Linked DNA regions of Homo sapiens: regions 2, 3, 4 and 5 are each linked to region 1. The links are contacts of gene promoters, found by promoter capture Hi-C in blood cells and fetal thymus (Javierre and others, 2016). All regions are on one chromosome and are shown on one strand. Each heading gives the region's core, a stretch centred on a gene start or on the middle of the fragment in contact. The rest is flanking DNA. Distances are from core to core; before and after follow the strand shown.

Evidence for each region. Contacts are between HindIII fragments. The CHiCAGO score rates a contact against its expected background, and 5 or more counts as called.
Region 2: a fragment that was not itself captured here is called in contact with the fragment with the promoter of POLR2B in region 1 in 4 of 17 cell types (non-activated CD4 T cells, total CD8 T cells, fetal thymus and 1 more); the score reaches 8.0 in non-activated CD4 T cells.
Region 3: a contact is called between a fragment that was not itself captured here and the fragment with the promoter of POLR2B in region 1, in 1 of 17 cell types (monocytes). The highest score is 6.5, in monocytes.
Region 4: the fragment with the promoter of USP46 here is called in contact with the fragment with the promoter of POLR2B in region 1 in 1 of 17 cell types (activated CD4 T cells); the score reaches 9.2 in activated CD4 T cells.
Region 5: a fragment that was not itself captured here is called in contact with the fragment with the promoter of POLR2B in region 1 in 2 of 17 cell types (activated CD4 T cells and naive CD8 T cells); the score reaches 6.2 in activated CD4 T cells.

Annotation. Positions count from the first base shown.
Region 1 is chr4:56,976,949-56,980,805 of GRCh38, forward strand. It overlaps POLR2B (RNA polymerase II subunit B), which reads left to right and starts at 1,948. Exons shown (of 25, transcript NM_000938.3): 1 at 1,948-2,056. The coding sequence starts at 2,038. It overlaps NOA1 (nitric oxide associated 1), which reads right to left and starts at 658. Exons shown (of 7, transcript NM_032313.4): 1 at 1-658. The coding sequence starts at 637. RefSeq lists a silencer at 151-230 and enhancers at 331-400, 2,222-2,321. The HindIII fragment of the contact is 1,293 bases long and covers 1,842-3,134 here.
Region 2 is chr4:53,371,812-53,375,655 of GRCh38, forward strand. It overlaps LOC105377654 (a long non-coding RNA gene), which reads right to left. Exons shown (of 3, transcript XR_007058118.1): 2 at 3,786-3,844; 3 at 2,358-2,786. Among named protein-coding and RNA genes, the nearest start is that of FIP1L1, 3.9 kb to the right of the region's middle. The HindIII fragment of the contact is 2,399 bases long and covers 296-2,694 here.
Region 3 is chr4:53,354,307-53,357,942 of GRCh38, forward strand. All of the region lies in intron 1 of SCFD2 (sec1 family domain containing 2), which reads right to left. Among named protein-coding and RNA genes, the nearest start is that of SCFD2, 9.9 kb to the right of the region's middle. The HindIII fragment of the contact is 7,385 bases long and covers 1-3,636 here.
Region 4 is chr4:52,657,923-52,661,743 of GRCh38, forward strand. It overlaps USP46 (ubiquitin specific peptidase 46), which reads right to left and starts at 1,379. Exons shown (of 9, transcript NM_022832.4): 1 at 1,193-1,379. The coding sequence starts at 1,228. It overlaps USP46-DT (USP46 divergent transcript), which reads left to right and starts at 1,484. Exons shown (of 2, transcript NR_125363.1): 1 at 1,484-1,754; 2 at 2,970-3,576. RefSeq lists silencers at 833-1,352, 1,363-1,792. The HindIII fragment of the contact is 3,165 bases long and covers 84-3,248 here.
Region 5 is chr4:52,706,753-52,710,877 of GRCh38, forward strand. No RefSeq gene overlaps it. Among named protein-coding and RNA genes, the nearest start is that of DANCR, 3.6 kb to the right of the region's middle. The HindIII fragment of the contact is 5,324 bases long and covers 1-4,125 here.

The DNA.
Region 1 (3,857 bases), core at 698-3,197:
CGGGCCGCCGCAACGCGGCGCTCACCAGCTCCAGGTACTGCTCGCGGCTCACCTGCAGGCGTAGAGCGCGCCGGTGGTGCGACAGCAGCCAGCAGCGCTGGCACACGGTCCGTGCCAGCCCGCCGTCTGCCTCCGCCGTGCGGAGGAACTTCTCTCGGGGCAGGTAGCCGGGCACTCCGGCGTCCTGGCAGTGCAGCTCTGCCCCACAGCCCGAGCAGTTCACGCCGCTGGGCGGCAATGCCGGGTCCGGGTGCCCCACGACCGGGTGCTCCCGGGACCTGGCCCGTAGGTTTTGCTGTCGCCGCTCCTCCCGCCGCTGCTGCCTCTGTCGCTCCTCCTCCTCCTGCTGTTGCTGGAGCTCCTGCAGCTGCTTTTCGCGGGTGGGTTGCGGCTCCGGATCCAGGATGTACTCCGGGAACAGAAAACGCTCCTGCATGTCACCACCTTCTCCAAAGCCCTCCGTGTCCACGGGGTCATAAGGAAGCTCGCGTCCCAGACTCGATGAGTGCTGGAAGGAGGAGGCGGCAGCGCACCTCCTCTCCAGGAGCGGCTCCCGGAGGCCATGGCGCGCTGCCGTGGGAGCGGATCCACGAAGGAAAAGGCTCAGCAGCCTGAACGGTAGGCGAGCGGGCAGCATGAGGAAGTAGCTCCAAAGGGGCGGAGCCACCAGCGCGCACGCGCACTAGGGTCCGAGGCGCGCATTTGACCCGAGACGAAAGCGCGTGGGTACTTGGGAGCTGTCCTGGTTGGTTTTGCGTCTAATCCCGTCAGTTCTCGCGATTTAAGCTCTGAGACTGAGAACCTACTTAAAGCTATGGCAAAGGCACTGGAGGATTGAGCTAGGTGGGCAGAAAAGAGCAGTGAGTGTTTTGGGTTTTTTCACTTTCAGGCTTAACGCCTCACTGCTAGCACAAGCCGCCCTTAATAAATCACACTTAAAAAGGAGCTTCCGGGGTCGGGCGCGGTGGCTCACGCCTGTAATCCCAGCAATTTGGGAGGCCGAGGCGGGCGGATCATGAGGTCAGGAGATCGAGACCATCCTGGCTTACACGGTGAAACCCCCATCTCTGCTAAAAATACAAAAAATTAGCCAGGCGTGGTGGCGGGCGCCTGTAGTCCCAGCTACTCGGGAGGCTGAGGCAGGAGAATGGCTTGAACGCGGGAGGCGGAGGTTGCAGTGAGCCGAGATCGCGCCACTGCACTCCAGCCTGGGCGACAGAGCGAGCCTGTCTCAAAAAAACAAAACAAAACAAAAACAGAAAGGAGCTTCCGGCCGGGCGCGTGGCTCACGCCTGTAATCCCAGCACTTTGGGAGGCCGAGGCGGGTGGATCACCTGAGGTCAGCAGTTCGAGACCAGCCTGGCCAACGTGGTGAAACCCCGTCTCTACTAAAAATACAAAAATTACCCGGGCGTGGTGACCCTTGCCTGTAATCCCAGCTATTTGGGAGGCCGAGGCAGGAGAATCGCTTGAACCCGGGAGACGGAGGTTGCAGTGAGCCGAGATCGCTCCACTGCACTCCAGCCTGGGCGACAGAGCGAGACTCCATTTCAAAAAATAATAAATAAATAAAAATAAAAAATAGCTTCGTGTTTTGGTCCTTATAAAGGCAAATAAATTGAGCATCCCAATGTTGCGGATTCACAGGACGAACACTTTTTAATAATAAGTATACCTGGTTTTGTTTTCAGGTGTCGTTATTTGTGCAACAACATTGAAAAACAAGCAGAAATAAAACATTGACGGAACGGATACGACCGCAGATTGCGGGAGCTGTCCTCTCAATCAGCCCGGCAGCGGCGGCCCACAATTTACGCGTGTGCAACCCTAACCCCGGCCCAAGCTTGACCTACAATTTGCGCAGGCGCAGATCCTAACTTTGGCGTCCCTGTGGGCGGCCTTTGGTGTGAGACGCGTGGTATTCTGGGAACGTCGGAGACGGAAGTTACTTCGTCTTTAGCTCCTGGCGCTGCTGGCTTCTGGGCGGTTTTTGTCTTTTGATTTCAAGAGTTAGGAGCTCGAGAACCGTTTGGCAATATGTACGACGCGGATGAGGGTAGGTGAACGCTCAAAACACACGCCGTGGCGGTCCATTTAAGCAGGAAAGCGTTGGGAACTGATTGGATTGAGGATTTGGGGCCTTCCCATGCGCCGGCTGCACAGTCCCCAGCCTTGTTCCCACACTTACCAGGCCGGGAACGAAACTGGGGTAGGGAGAGGCGGAGGGTGCAGGGAACATAGTGTTAATGTTCCAGGTTACGTTCACTGCTGCTCTCTGCACTTTCTCGTTCCGTTAGATCTGATCCTCGTTTCCTGTGGTGAAGTAGCGTGCAGAATCGTAAGATAAATTACGTTTTGAATTTGAAGCAAAGGGCACCCTTTAAAAATTTTCCTTAAAGCCACAGTCGACTTAACGAATAGCTCAATTGTTGAGTGTCAGCCTGTGTCAGGCAGTGTGGAAGGTCCTGGAAATATTCCGGGACAGAGAATATCGGGGGGTGGGGGTGGCGGGGGGGACTCGGTTTAGTCTGACATTTCTTCATACTGTTTGTAAGTCAAAGTAAATTGTCTTAAAGGATGACTTTTAACTTCCTCTTCTCACAATGTCACAGTTCTCAGATGATATGTATTCTGCTGCACTGGGCCAATGTATAATACCTGTTTGTTTGCGCATATGGAATTCTTAGTAGTGGCCGAGCGCGGTGGCTCCCGTCAGCACTTTGGGAGGCCGAGATGTGCAGATCGCTTGAGACCAACCTGACAAACATGGGGAAATCCTGTATCTACTAAAAATACAAAAATTAGCCTAGTGTGATGGCGTGCGCCTGTAATCCCAGCTACTCGGGAGGCTGAGGCCGGACGATCGCTTGAGCCCAGGAGGCGGAGTTTGCAGTGAGCTGAGATCGCACCACTACACCACAGCCTGAGTGACAGAGTTAGACTGTCTCAAAAAAAAAAAAAAAAAATTCTTAGTTGAGTCTAGTGTATTTTCGTAGCCGCCTTTTCCATTCTCCATATCTGCTAATTCAAACCTTATTTTCTTATAGCTCTCAATTCCTTGGCCACCCCCTACATCTCCTCTCTCTATTCCCTCAGGTACTTCTGATAAATCAGATGGAAAAAATTGAAGCAAAAGCTTAATTTTTTTTTTTTTTTTTTAAGAGATGGGGTCTGGCCATGTTGCCCAGGCTGGTCTCAAACTCCTGAGGTCAAACCATCTGCCTGTCTCGGCCTCCCAAAGTGCTGGGATTACAAGCATGAGCCAATGTGCCCAGCCAAAAGCTTAAACTTTTAAAGCTGTTTAAACTTCTGTCTCATTTATATCTTGTGTTGTAGAAATTTATTAGCATCATTATATTCCTTGTTCTTTTTTAACTACTATCTCAGTAGAAGAAAAATTCGAAAAAAAAGATTTTTAAAGCATAATTTTTGGCTGGGTAATATATTCTCATAGCTCACAAGCCAGAAAATTTAAAAATGTTAAAGTGGGGTGGCTGGTGCAGTGGCTCACGCCTGTTATCCCAGCATTTTGGGAGTCTGAGGCGGGTGGATTACTTGAGCTCAGGAGTTCGAGAGCAGCCTGGGCAACATGGGAGACCCCTCTCTATAAGAAATAGAAAAATTAGCTGGGCGTGGTCTTGCTCACCTATAGTCCCAGCTACTTGTGGGGCTGAGGCTGGAGGATCGCTTGAGCCTGGGAAGTTGACACTGCTATGAGCTGAGAACAAAGTGAGACCTTGTCTCAAAAAAAACAAGTTAAAGTGTCACGTCTCCTTCTTACCCACCATCTGCCCAGTTTGAACTCTCCACAGTGGGTAACTACAGTTATAACAGTTATAAGAGGTTCTTATCACTCC
Region 2 (3,844 bases), core at 245-2,744, 3.6 Mb before region 1:
GGAAGCAAGCTCTCCTGTCTTTTCTTATGAAAGTCCAAACCCCTCTCCATTAGGGAGGACTTAATTACCTCACAAAATCCCCATATCCAAACACCATCACATTGAGGATTAAGGTTTAGGCATATGAACTTTGGAGAAACACAAAAATTTAGACTATAGCAGTGATATGAGGGAAAACATTAAAAGATTTGACAAATGATGACTAAGAATGAGGTGATACAGACACCCCTAAAAGTTGTGCAATGCAGAGCCTGTATAGCCACATGCAACTTGAGGGACTGTCAGACCGTGAAGAAGCTTGTAGGCCATATGGTAGGAAGTTTAGATTTTATTTCATATTTAAGAGAAGGCCACGGAAGGGTTTTGTGTTCCTAGAATTTCAGTGTGGCAGTGCAGATGGAAAGAAGTAGATAGATTTGAGATACGTTTTAATGAGAAGCACTAACAGATCTTGCTAACTGATTTGCATAGTTGTGAGAAGAGCAGATGGGGAAGACAGAAAAGTCAAGGATAATTCTTTGATTTATGGCTAAAACAACTAGTTAAATGGTGGTTACTGATATTAATATGAAGAAGTCTTTGGGAGTATGGGAGTGGGACAAGACAGATATGGGAGAGAAATTTATAAGTTGTGTTTTGAACATAAGTTTTAAAGGCCTAAGAGAGGCATCAGGTGAAGCATTTGAGTCAGACCGAGTATCTTGAGCTCAAAGAGAAGTTAAGACTGCCCAGAGAAATATGGGTGTCAGTGGCTCTCAATGACATGACATTAAAAGTCATGGAGGCCAGGCGTGGGGCTCAGACCTGTAATCTCAGCACTTTGGGAGGCTGAGGTGGGCAGAACACTTGAGGTCAGGAATTCGAGACCAGCCTGGTCAACATGGTGAAACCTCATCTCTACTAAAGATACAAAAATTGGCTGGGCATGGTGACATGAACCTGTAATCCCAGCTACTGGGGAGGCTGAGGCAGGAGAATTGTTTGAACCTGACAGGGGGAGGTTGTAGTGAGCCAAGATCATGCCACTGCACTCCAGCCTGGGTGACAGAGTGAGTCTCCGTCTCAATAAATAAGTAAATACATACATACATATGTACATAAATAAAAGTCATGAAGCTGGAGGAAATGACTTGGGAGACAGGGTGGACAGAAAAGGTAGGAGAGCCCAGGCAAAAGTCATTTCTTGCTTTCAGATGTTATGGTGGAGTAAAATGAATTCCTATTAAAATGACCTGCTTAAGACCGTCATGTTTATTTTATTAAAATGTGATTTGTATTTCTCTGCTCAAAATAGTCAGCTATTGTTTCTCTTCTGTCCAAAATCCAACATATCTCTCTTCACCTCATTTCTAGGTCATCCATAGGCATGATCAGTTCTTAGCTTAAGAACTTTCCATGTACTTGATGTTGTAAGAGAGGACCTGGCAAATACAGAAATAAAACGATTTTGTTCTCACCTTTAAAAAGAGTATGCGAAGTTTACTGACAGCACAGACATGAATAGGAAATAATACAATTTTCCAGAAACAACTAGCAATAGAAAATTTATTTTTTCTTTTTTGATGAGCTAAACTTAGGACTAGGTAAAGTTTATTGTTAAAAGATGTCAGGATGTAGAGGAAGATGGCTAATTGGGGTTTAATTTATCATGGAAGTACATAAAGAGGAAGGAAAGCTCTACACACGTACAATTACTTTGCTTGTTCAAAGAAGAAAAGTCCTAAACAACATGTTACCTGCTTGTCAATAACTTGTCAAATGCTTTGACTTTTTTTTTTTTTTGAGACGGAGTCTTGCTCTGTCGCCCAGGCTGGAGTGCAATGATGGGATCTTGGCTCACTGCAACCTCCTCCTCCTGGGTTCAAGCGATTCTTCTGCCTCAGCCTCCTGAGTAGTTGGAATCACAGGTGCGTGCCACAATGCCCAGCTAATTTTTGTGTTTTTAGTAGAAACAATGTTTCACTATGTTGAGCAGGCTGGTCTTGAACTCCTGACCTCAGGTGATCCGCCTGCCTCGGCCTCCCAAAGTGCTGGGATTACAGGCGTGAGCCACCGTGCCTGGCTAGATGCTTTGACATTTGAAACCTCAATTTAGCTTTGTTATTCTTCCCCAATATTGGTACAAATGTCATTTTAATGTATCAATTTACTGCTGAGGAAACTTAAGAACATTGAGAATTTAAGAACATTGAAATTTATGTGACAGCAAAGAGCACAGTTGGGCATAAACATCATATGCATGCCAAACACATTTATGTGTACTTGCTATATATACTGGATAGTGAGCAAGGCATTTTTATTTGATCTCCAATTCTTGTCATCATTTAACTCATCATCATCTACTAAACACTCTCAGTACTTCTCAGAGATAAGTATATTAAAACTTATCTTTTAATTTTTTTTGCCAGAAACCAACAGACCACAAAACAACAATAAAATGGAAAACAAATAGAATATATGGAGCACTGTAGTTTGATAAGGTCATAATATAAGAAATGGAAGGAGGAATATATAATATCTTCAAACTACCTACCTTTGATGTCTCCCCTGGTGAGCAGGGAGAGAAAGATACCTTTAACTAAGAAAGCATATTCAGGCAAGAAACTCAGCTTAGAAGCAAGGAGGAAGAGGTCTTTTCAGAGTAGTTATTAGTGATTTATGTGCTTCTTTGCTTGTGGAAATCTTCATTTTCAAAGCTTAGCTCAAATGCTACCTCCACCACAAAAGCTATTCTAGTATTGTTCATCATTTCTTCAGTTATGTTTAAGCAATGCCTTGAAAGGCAGCTGAAAACAGAAAAAGATCCCTTAACAAAAGGCAATTGGTTTTCTCATGAAACCAATTAAATAAATAGAACGATCAATAGACAGGACTGTGAGTGATTGCCTTACGATACTCATAAACAGTCTATAAGACTTCATTCTATTACTTTCAACAGTGACCAAGAAGATTTACTCAGCGTTAAGCACTATACTAGGAATTGAAGTGATGGCTATGGGATGCCCTGTTTGGAGGTGGACTTGGTCTAGCGAAGAGCCTGAGGCAAACAGAAATATAGTCAAATAATTACTATACAGTGTGATAGGCACATGGCATAGAAGCAGCATGGTGTCTAGAAGGAGTGAGTTGCTCTGTCCCACTCACCCCCCAAATACATCTGACCTCATCTGCATTCTCTCTCACTCACTATACTTTAGCTACATTTTGAGTTTCTTGAACATGCCAAGTATGCTTCTACCTCAGGGCCTTTGCACTTCTTATTCCTCTGTTTGATAGTCTGTCACCCCGAAATCCACGGGGCTCACCTCCTGTCTCCATTCAAGTCTCTTGTATCACTTCATCAGAGTAGCTTTCCCTGACCACTCCATATAAAATTGCACCCCATCACTTCATTTTATATTGCTTACTCTTTTCACAATTCTTGTCATCATGACATATCATACGTTCATATGTTTATTATCTGACTCTCTTATTAGAATCAAAGCTCCACAAAAGAAAGAACTTTGTTTTATTCACTGTTGAATCTACATAGCTGGAAGAGTTCCTGGCAAAACAAATGGGAAGAGATAAAATGGGATTCAGGAAAGATTTCACAAAGGTGATTATACCCCCAGAGAGTTTAGAAGGATGCAAGAGATTATCATAAAAAGATAAGGGAGCTGGGAATAGCTGGCAGAAGTGTGTTCAAAGGTAAGAAAGATTAAAACCACATGGTTTGTTTAAATAATGTGAGATATTGGTTGGGCGTAAACCCTTCATTTGTGCTTCTATTACAACACATTCACCTCTTCTCTTGTAGGAGAGTTGTTTACTGCCCCTCTGTCTTTCTCAATAACTTCAGAGT
Region 3 (3,636 bases), core at 496-2,995, 3.6 Mb before region 1:
CCTCTGCAGCTGCTGGCCCAGGTGCTAAGCCCCTCACTGCCTGGACCGGCCGGCCACTCCAAGTGTGGGGCGCGCCGAGCCCACGCCCACATGGAACTCACACTGGCCTGCCAGCGCCGCAGTGCAGGCCTGGTTCCTGCCCGTGCCTCTTCCTCCACATCTCCCGGCAAGCCAAGTGAGCTGGCTCCGGCCTCAACCAGCCCAGAGAGGGGCTCCCACAGTGCAGCGGCAGGCTAAAGGGCTCCTCAAGTGTGGCCAGAGCAGACACCGAGGCCGAGGAGGCACTGAGAGCGAGCAAGGGCTGCTAACACTTTGTCACCTCTCACTAGCACAGTGCCTACATATAGTAGGCATCAATAAGCATTTGCTTAATGAATGAATAAATAAATAACCTGTATCTAGTCAGTCAGGTAAATAGTGTCATAAGATGATACTATCCTGAAATTTTAAAGCTGAATTTTTTTATATTCTTTTCTTTTTCTTCTATTTTTTTTTCTTTTTTTTAGAGGCAGAGTCTCACTCTGTTGCCCAAGCTGGAGTGCAATCATAGCTCACTGTAGCCTTGAACTCTGAGCTCAAGCAACTCTCCCACCTTAGTTTCCCAGATAGTTGAAACTATTCCCAGGATTTGAGATCCTAAATTAAGCCAATTGCTTCAAGGATTTGAGATCCTAAATTAAGCCAATTGCTTCAAGGGCTAAACTTTTCAAGTTACCGGGACCAGAAAATACCAATTCTGTATGATCCTGTGGATTTTATGTGTGTCAGTGTCATTATCATAAGGCATGTAACATCTTCACTTGTCTTTAAGTCTTATATGGAATAAAATGAGAAGCAAGCATTGAGAAGTCTTCATAAGAGCTCAATACATATATTCCGTTAGTTCTGTCCCTCTGGAGAATCCTGACTAATATGCTTATGAAATGAACAGAGATCATTCATACCATTTTTAACACTGTCTTGAGTAACCAGAATTGTAGTGATCTTGCAGGATCATGCAGGGGGAACCTTTCACTTACTCTACTTCATTTTTTTCTCTAGCTATTCTAGAAGATAGACATGTTAACTTATTTTACCCTCTCAGTTACTCTCTGAGGTCCTTATTTTACAGATCAGGAAACTGAGAGGCAGAAGTTAGGCAACTTGCCCAAGGACTTTTGACTAGGAAAGGGCAGAGCTAAGATTACTATAACTAAGCTCTCGTAATCTCTTTAGTAACAGTAGCTACCATATATTGAGGATCTACCTCAATCCTCATACTCTTTACATAAATGATCCTATATAACATAAATTTGATCATATCACATCACAGCTCAAAACTCTCCAACTGATTCCCATTATACTTTGGCTATTATTCTAAATCCTTATTTTAACCTACAAAGCATTCCCTCAACCTACCCCTCCAACTGATCTCCTATCGGTGTTCCCTCTTGCTCACAACACTTTAGCCAAACTGGGCTCCTAGTGGTCCTCAAGCATGACACACATGCTCCCACCTTAGGCCCATTGCACTTGCCATTCCCTGGATCTTATATGTTCTATCATTAGGTAGCCACATGGTATGCTTCCTCCCTTCTTTCGGCCTCTGTTCAAATGTCGCATCCTCTCAAAACTTACTGTCTTAAAACCACATGTATTAATCTCAACTGTTTCTATGCATCCAAGAATTCAGAGTGGCTTAACTGGGTCTGACTCAGAGACTCTCATAAAATTGCAGTCAATATGTCAGCTGGGGCTGCAGTCATCTGAATGCTTGACTGGGCTGGAGGATCTATTTCTCAGATGGCTCACTCACAAAGCTATTGACAGGAGGCCTCAGTTCCTCATTGGCTGTTGAAAGGAATCCCATTTCCTCACTACATGGGCCTCCCATAGGGCTGCTTGAGTCTCTTCATGACATGGTAGCTAACTTCCCTCAGAGCCAGTGATCCAAAAGAACAAAGCAAAGAAAAAGATGCAATACCTTTTAGGACCTGGTCTTGAAAATTACACTTCTGCATTTCTGCCCTATGCTATTTTAGGGAGAAGGGGATAAGTGAGTCACTAAACCTAGCCCACACTCAAGGGCAGGGGAATTTAAACTGTATTTCTTGAAGGAAGAGGTATCAAAGAATTTGTAGACATATATAGAGAGAGAGAGACAAGGTCTTGCTCTGTTGCCCAGGCAGGAGTGCAGTGGCTCAATCATGGCTCACTGCAGCCTAGATTTCCCAGACTCAGGTGATCCTCCCACCTCAGCCTCCTGAAGAGCTGGCACTACAGCATGCAACACCATGCCCAGCTAATTTTTTGTATTTTTTGTAGAGATGGGGTTTCACCATATTGCCAAGGCTGGTCTCGAACTTCTGGGCTCAAGTGATCCACCACTTTGGCCTCCCAAAGTGCTGGGGTTGCAGGTGTGAGTCACCACACCCAACTTGTAGACTTTTTTTTTTTTTTTTTTTTGTTGAGACATAGTCTTGCTCTGTCACCCAGCCTGGAGTGCAGTGGCGCGATCTCGGCTCACTGCAAGCTCCACCTCCTCGGTTCACGCCATTCTCCTGCCTCAGCCTCCGGAGTAGCTGGGACTACAGGCGCCTGCCACCACGCCCGGATAATTTTTTGTATTTTTTAGTAGAGACAGGGTTGTAGACATATTTTTAAACCACCACACCTACCTTCATTAATATTAATAGCCCATATTATTATACTGATATTAGTAATTTGTTTACTGTCTTCATTCCCAAACAAAATTTAAACTTCCTAACTGGAAGGATTTGGATATTTTTAGCACTATTTCCCCTATTCCTTGAGTAATAGATAATATGTATTTTTGAATGAAGGAATTATTTCAAGCCAGGCTCGGTGGCTGATGCCTGTAATCTCAGCACTTTGGGAGGCTGAGGTGGGAGGGTCACTTGAGGTCAGGAGTTTAAGACCAGTCTGGCCAACATGGTAAAGCCCCATCTCTACTAAAAAATATATATATATAAATTAGCCAGGTATAGAGGTATGTGCCTATAATCCCAGCCACTCAGGAGGCTGAGGCACAAGAATCGCTTGAATCCAAGAGGCGGAGGTTTCAGTGAGCTGAGATTGAGCCACTGCATACCAGCCTGGGCAATAGTGCAAGACTCTGTCTCAAAAAAAAAAAGGAATTATTTCATATTCTTCCCACAGGTTAGAATACAAAAACAGGTGGATATTTTTCCCTCTTTACAAATGAGAAAACCTCAACAGCTCAATGAGGGTCAAATAGCACAAAAAAAGTCACTAAGCCAGGATGTGAGGTTATCCTGGCATGGATCTAACACCAAAAATCTAGTCAGCCTTTATATGGCTTCCCAACTGTGTCTCATACCTATTTATTTTAAATAGTATCTTCTGAACCCTGAAATAAAGATATAAGTTAGTTAGTTTGCATGTTTTGGAAAAGCAGATCGGGGAGAAAAAAAATCAGACACTTTTCTGAGCACTAAAGCAGCACTGGAGTCCAAATGTTTAGTCTCTGAAGCTGCTAACTTCCGGACACACCATATAATGATCATCTCTACTGTGCAGGACAACAGTTCTCAAACTTTTCCCACACCCACATATGAGAGTAGTCACTGGAGCAAACTGCCAAGGTTCAAATCCTAGCTCTGCCACTTAACACAT
Region 4 (3,821 bases), core at 129-2,628, 4.3 Mb before region 1:
ACAGAATGTGGGACAGAAGATTTAAAAAGCTATGTGATGGGGGAAGGGCAGCCAGATCACCTTACACCAGGGCTTCTCCATCAAGCTTCCTTGGATTCCCTTTAGGGGCCAGTATTACTAGCTTCAAGGGAGGTTTTCCTCAAACTGGCACTGTAAGAGCACGTGTTGCCTCCGGGGACCCGCTTGGGAGGGGGCTAGAGGGGAGGCGGGGTGCAGTCTAAAGAATGTAGGCAAAACACACATCATCTCACCCTGCAAGGGACAGCAATGCCTTACTCCAATCTGAGCTCCCCAAAGGCTCTGACAAGTGGAGGCGCCAGCAGGGTCCAGCCTGGGGACCCAAGGGCTGGAGGTTCTTCCTACAGAAAAAGGGAAAGCAATGGGGGAAACCCAAATTAAAGTGACCACCGCATCATGGGCTCGGACTGCATCAGAACCCAGTGATGTCCCTGGCTGTATCCATGCCCGCCAGCCTCCCCTAGGTCTACAGCGGATCAGGCAGGATAACCCTGGAGACCTCCTCCAAGCCCACAGCCCGCCCCACCCTTAGGGCCTGCAAATATTACCGCCACAGAGCCTTGTCCCTTTTTCACAGATGGGGAAACTGAGGCATGCGGAGCAAATTACGGTGCTTTTTCAAACCAGGTTGAAGTTCACTTCTCCAGCCACAATTTTGCACTTTTTTTACAGCTTTATTACATTTCCGATTTCTCCAGATACACAATTGCTATTGCAAAGTGAATTTTAAACACCTCGGAAGGACTGAACTCAAAATGAGATGAGGGCAGTCTGGACGTCCAATAAGGCTGTCTTGACCGCAAGAAGAGGATGGGTGCCCCCCACCTCCAGCTTATCCCCCACCCCCTCCCCGGGGACGTTCAGGTTCGGTCGCTTCCCTTCCCTCAAGCCGCTTCCACCGCAACCCGAGGGCGGGGGGCGCAGCAGCGCGGCCCCGGGATCGCCGGGCGGGTTCCGAGGTCCCGGGGCTGAGACGGGCGCCGGGGGCTCGGGGACCCTCCCCGGCCGCTGAGGTGGCTGCGGCCGCGCGCCCAGCTCGGGGGCCGGGAACTTCTGGCGGCGCGGACCCCGCCGCCCCCGCCGCCCCAGCCACCGGGCGTGTGTGCAGCTCGGGCTTCCCTTTCTTTGCCTCGCCGCGAGTCGGGCGCGACCCCGAGGCGGCTCGGCCACTCACCATATTACAGATGGAGGCGATGTTTCGGACAGTCATTAGTCTAAAGGTTGCAGCGATCCCTCACCGCCATCTTTACAAGGGGAAACCGGGACTGCCCATGGTGGCGCGCTGGCGGGGAGGCCGGGCGGCAGCGCGGCGGCCTGGGGTCCGGCTTTCAGTTTGGCTGGGAGAGGGAGGCCGGGAGGAGGAGGCGGCGGCGCGGGGAGGGCGGGGAGGGAGCGCGGAGGGGCGGGGAGTGGCGGAGCGAGGGAGCCTGGGCCGCGGCCGGCGGCGCGGGGAGGAGGGGCGGCCCGGGCGCGCCGCGTGAGTCCGAGCCGGCCGCTCAGAGCGCTCCAGGCTGGGTTCCCGGGCCCCGCCGCGCCGCCTCCTTCCCAGCTCGCCCGCCCAGGCCTGGCCTCCTGCTTTTCCATTTGATTCCCTGCCTCTTTCTATTCGGACTGGAATGCCGGGCCAGGCTCCGGGGCGCGCCGCTGCGGCAGCCGCACCTCGCAGGTCCCCCGGCCGACCCCGACGCGGAAGCGGCGGCCCTCCTCGCCGTCGGGGAGCCAGGGAGCCGGGGACGGTACGGTGCGCGGGGTGGGGAAGCGGGCGGCCCAGGCCGGGGCGAACCCGGGGCCGCCTTCCGTCCTCGCTTTTTCCTCGTCGCCTTCCTCCTGGCGGGCCTCGGCAGCCCCCGGTGTTTATTTTTTGGCGAGGGGTAGGGGTGGCGACGTCCAACTTTTAGTTCCTCCCGAGGGTTCCAACCAGATGGCACCGGCGGGGACCCAAGAAGTAAAATGGGGCGAGGACACCGGAGCGGTCAGAGAGCCCTCGCCAGCTGCGGGCCGGGCGCCCGAGAAAGGGCGCCGGGAAGGGGGAGGAATCCGGGTCTGGGCGGAGGCCAGCAGCGGCGCGCTCGGGCGGCTTGTGACATTAGCGGGTCCAAAGGAGACGTCCCGGTTCCGCGCAAGCACTAGGGACTGTCCAAGGAGTGGAAAGAACGAAAACAAAACTTTTCCATATCTTCAAGGCAGGCATACCCCTCTCGGGTGCACCCAGCCTCTAGTTGTTGAGATGGGCGCTGTATGGGATCATGCACATTTCCCGCATTAAAGGTCGTGGCTGCGGGCTCAGAGCGCGAGTCTGTGCACCACTTAGCAGATAGGTCCACGCGAATTGAAGGGGCCCGTTTCTGAATGTGTGGAACAGTTACACATACAAGGTTGCAATTCGATGCTTTCAAAGGAGAAATTGTACAAGTGAGATGCGTGATAAATTCTTAGATCAGTGTATTTAATGACAAATTGAATCAGAAGAAAAATTAGTTGAAGATAGCTTTTATCTAACCAAGAGTAAAGATTTGAGAGCCGTTGATTGCTAATATCCCTAGAATCTGGGGAGGAAACAGTAAGACAGACTTGTTGACTGAAGGTTTTGGGAGTCATGTCACTGTGTTTTCCAGTGGACATGAGAAATAATATTCCTGCTTAAGTCTTTCAACCTAAATATTATTTCCAAATACATCCTGATGATAATTTCTTCCATTGTAAGTCATGACTGATTTTCTTCTCTCTCTCTCTGTTTTTTAAGAGACAGGTTCTCGCTATGTTGCCCAGCCTGAGGCTGGGCAGCCCCGAGTCATCCCAAACTCCTGGGCTCCAGCAATCATCCCACCTTGGCCTCCCAAAGCGCTGGGACAACAGGCGTGAACCACTGCACCCAATGTTTACATTCCTGATCTCCTTTAATCGCCACCATAACTATCAGCTGGTACATGCTATTATCTCCTTTTTTGCAGATCAGTCACATAAGGCTTAGAGGATCAAGGATCCTGCCCAGATGACTTACCGAAATGTTACAGATTAAGTTGGTGTGGTAACCTGGGCTGAGCACTCTGGGAGAGGAAGAGAAGAGAGAAGACAGGAAACAACTGAACTATGACCAATCCCAGCACGGAGGCCCAGAAAACTTTAAGATTTGAGTATTAATGTCTCAAGGTCAGGAGCAACCTCAAGGCTAAAACTCAGATCTCAGGACTCAATTTCACAGAAGTTCCACTATAAAGGCAATAATCTAAAGCTTTAAATGATATGAAAATTTTGTAATAAGAGTTCAGTATTTCTGCCAACATTGGCGCATGGATTGCAAAGTTCACAGGATTGAAAACACCATCGACATAATGGAAATTGAACAGCATCTGATTACTGAGTGCTATATCAGCAAGTTAAAAGGATCTTTTGCATACCTTTTAATGGTATATATCCTAAAACTGAAGTGTTCAATATAGACATCCAGATTGAAACTCAGGCAGTGAATTACATACACAACAAATCAGTTGAACATGGCAGAGCTTGTCAGACTTATGAAAGATTAAATACATTTTACATTTCCACAAGTGTGGTATTCACAGGTCTAAATTGGAAAATTCTTGGGTTGAAGAAGAATAATCATAATCTTAGCTTCACTCATTGAGGAAACATTATTCAGGGATGATAAGAGGTAAAATCTTAAAAATATTGACAAGCTAATGAGAGAACTTTGAGGTAAGCTGATATGCAGGTATAGTTAGGACTGGGAAAAGCAAGAAAATGGAAGGATGGGTTAGAGGGTGGCACTACACGGCTGATATAGTTTGGATATCTGTCCCCAT
Region 5 (4,125 bases), core at 1,313-3,812, 4.3 Mb before region 1:
TGATAAATAGATATAGAATTATAAATATGATCATACATGTACAAAAGGATGATTTGCAACACTGAATTTTGGGCCGGGCACAGTGGCTCATGCCTGTAATCCCAGCACTTTGGGAGGCTGAGGCAGGTGGATCACGAAGTCAAGACATTGAGACCATCTTGGCCAACTTGGCGAAACTCGTCTCTACTAAAAATACAAAAATTAGCCAGGCGTGGTGGCGGGCGCCTGTAATCCCAGCTACTCAGGAGGCTGAGGCATGAGAATTGCTGGAACCTGGTAGGCAGAGGTTGCAGTGAGCCCAGATCGTGCCACTGAACTCCAGCTCTAGCGACACAGCAAGACCACGTCTCAAAATAAATAAATAAATAAATAAATAAATAAATAAATAAAATAAAACACTGAGTTTGTTACTTATTTAGATAAGCCAACTTGTTTTAAAATAAAGAATATAAATTTCCTTCTATCTTTAGAATTGAATTGGAACTTGTACAATACCCTTAATAATAATAATTTGATCTAACCCCCCAAAATGCCTCCCTCACCTTGCTGCTTAATCAAATTTCACAACATCCTGTTATTTTTGCAAATTAGTTACTGTGCAGAATATAAACTATGTCTTGGCTCCAGGCTATGTTGTCTCCTCTATTCATTCTGGTGGCTTTTTGGGCCTTACCCTACCACCAGAACTCTATACCCTATAACTGACTTCCACAGCTGAGCACACTAAGATCTGCAGAAATTGCATCCCATAGCTCAGCAAAACACATTTTGCCATGAATTTAAAATAACCTCTCAGGTAATTGTCATCTTTTTTTCAGTAAAGAAAAAATTGCCAAAATTTAGAAAAGAAATACAATAGCCAAAAAATGAAAACATTCGTTCTTAATAGAATATTTGATAGAACAAAACCTTGATGCTAAGGACCAAACGAGATGTCATCTGAGTCACCCAACATATCCATATACTTCTGCAGATGCTTCTAGTGATTCCAGGTGACCTTCTCTGTACACCTAAGGCCCCTTTTCAGACTCCAGCCCTAGCTAGGAGTCAGGCAGGGGATGGAGAAGAGGTGATTGTCGTGGTGCTAGGACCATGTCTGCTGTGGGGGTGGGAGGGTAGACACAGGAGACAGCAGTGGAGGCATCACAAGAGATCATTCTTCTGCTTTCAGGTTGGTTGTTGCCTATGCCATGCCTACTGCCCGCTCTTGTGTTGTAGACAAGGGAGTGTCTCTAACTGTGGAAGGTGGGGGCTCTCCTTTTTTGTAAAACGCTATACTTTATTCCGATATCGTGTTCTTGAAGTTACTTACAAAAGGCTAATATAGCCCTTATTTTGTTTTCTGTAATGAAAATTATTATATCAGTAATACATGCTCTTTGTAAAGAATTTGAATGATACCTCAAAAATATTTTTAGAAAGTAAGACACATGAAATCCCATCACCTTGAGAGAAATACCACTGACATTGTAGTAACCATATTTTCACACACACACACACACACACACACACAAACTATACTTGTACATGTATATACATAGAATACTATACATATATACATACTATACTATAAATATATACATAGTATGTATGTATTTATATTATATAGCTACATACATATAGTTATTTAAGATTACAAGATACAAGTGGTTTTATCATAGATATTTTCTCCTTCCCTCTCACTCCTCTCCCCCATATCCTTCATCCCCTACCCTCTGGATTACCATATTAACAGCAGGTTGTGAGTGTAGATAGGTCTAGGGATAAGTAGGAGTTAAGGAAAAAAGAACAGGTGACAGGCAGCCCAGACGAAGAGAACACCACATGCAAAGGCAAGGAAGCAAGAGCTTATTAGAGCTGTGGCTCTTGAAACTTTAATGTGCATACAGATCACCTGGGGATCTTGTTGAAATATAGATTCCGAATCAGCAGATCTGGGATGAGGCCTGAGATTATGCATTACTACAAGTTTCCAGGGAATGCCCAGGCTGATGGACCACGCTTTGAGAAGCAAGGATGTAAACTATTGTGCAGTTCAATGTAGTATCTACCAGCCACATGTGACTTTTATTTTTATCTATTTATTTATCTTAGATGTCTTGCTCTGTCACCCAGTCTGGAGTGCTGTAGTGCCATCATAGGTCACTGCAGCCTTGAATCCTGAGCTCAAGTGATCCTCTTGCCTCAGCTGCCTGAGTAGCTGGGACTACAGGCCTGTTCTGCCATGCTTGGCTAATTTTTTTTTTCTGTAGAGATGGAGTCTTGCTATATTGCGGCAGCTGGAGTGCAGTGGCTATTCACAGGCACTGTCTGAGCACACTGCAACCTCAAACTTCTGGCCTCAAGGGATCCTCCCACCTCAGACTTCTGCCCACGTAGCTGGGATTATAGGCATACCACCACCAGGCCCAGCATGACTATTTAAATTTAAATTAGTTAAAAGTAAATGAAGTTTAAGATCCAGGTCTTGTGTTGTGCTAGTCACATTTCAAGTACTCAATAGCCACATGTGGCTACCATACTGGACAGCAGAGATATAGAACATTTCCATCACTGCAGAAAGTTGTATGGGAGAGTGCTGGACAGCATTCAGGGGACTGCCATTAGTTCAGCATGGTTGGATTATAATAGGTATGTGGGAAGTGAGAGGAGGAAGTAGATAGGTGGAGGTTGGTTTTGTTTCTGGTGGCAGTAAAGAGCCATTTAACAATTTCCAATGGAGATGACAGCAGTGTGGAAGAATTCATGGGGAAGGGAACACTGGAGACAGGGAAGCTGAATGAAGGTGGAGGCTACTGCAGTGGATGATGCTGAAAGTAAATGATGGAGCTAGAACTAAAGTACAAGCAAGGGCTGGAAAGAAGAGGCAGAGTCATGGTGGTCAATAGGAAGAACTGCCCGCATGGAAGAAGATGAGGAAGTAGGAGGCTGAGAAATGGAGGAGGAGACTGAGAAAGGAAAGCATTTGCGCTAAGTCCTGGACAGCTGGGCTAAGGAATTGTTATTCTTCAAGACAGAGGACACAAAAAGGAAGTGGAGGGGTGGAAGAAGAGAATAAATTCTGGGCCAAAAGAGTGATTTTGTGGTGTCTCTGGGAAATCCAGCTGAGAATATCTGGAGGGCTGGTGGGTATTCTTCTAGGTCCCTTTATTCAACTTCCGACAGATTAAATTTGGAGAGACTGAACTCCCTCAAATTGGACAGATTGGCCAGTCGTGGTGGCTCACATCTGTAATGCCAATGCTTTGGGAGGCTGAGGTGGGAGGATCACTTAAGCCTAGGAGTTGGAGCCTGACCCGTGAGCTATGATTGTGCCACTGCACTCTAGCCTGAGTGATAGAGTAAGACCCTGTCAAAGGGAAAAGAAAGGGAGAGGGAGAGAGACGAGAGAGAGAGCAAGAAAGAGAGAGAGAGAGAAAAGAAAAGGAAGGAAGGGAGGGAGGGAGGGAAAGAAAAGAAAGAAAGAAAAGAAAGAAAGAAGGATTGATTAGACATACTAATTTCTCTAAAAAAATTAGGCCTAATAATAAACCCAATTGAAACAATTCTCTTTAAACTGCATTATAAGGATTTTTAGTACCAAATATATATTATCTTGAACCTAACTCAAAAGCAATTATAAATCAGTTTATTTTGTTCTATTGTCTCTGTATTTAATAGACATTTCTCCTCTAAGCCCAGTGAACAGTTTTACTATTTCGAATGAACTGTTTGTAAGTTCATTGAATTGAGGTATTTGGCCAGAAATGTGAAGCCTTCAGATTAAGGTGAATTTCTCTTAAATCAAACACAAATATAATTCTTTCATAATTCCTTCCCATTTTTATCCCCTGATTTGGGGAGGAGGGAAGACATTCTGCACAACTACCCCCAGCCCCTGCTAGGTTGCTGCTGAATTCCTGCATTAGTCTCTTTACTAAGGAGATTTACTTCTCTTTTCCTATATTTTCCCATGTTGCCTGACCACATGCATTGCCATAGTTAAAGGAAAGGTAATATCTCTCAGCTATCCAAAGGGACTATAAAAAGAACAGATTCCAACTAGAGATATGTTTGGAAGACTCTTGAGAAAGGTGAAGGGACAACAAACTGGTATTCACTCTCCAATTTCAACAAGATCCTATG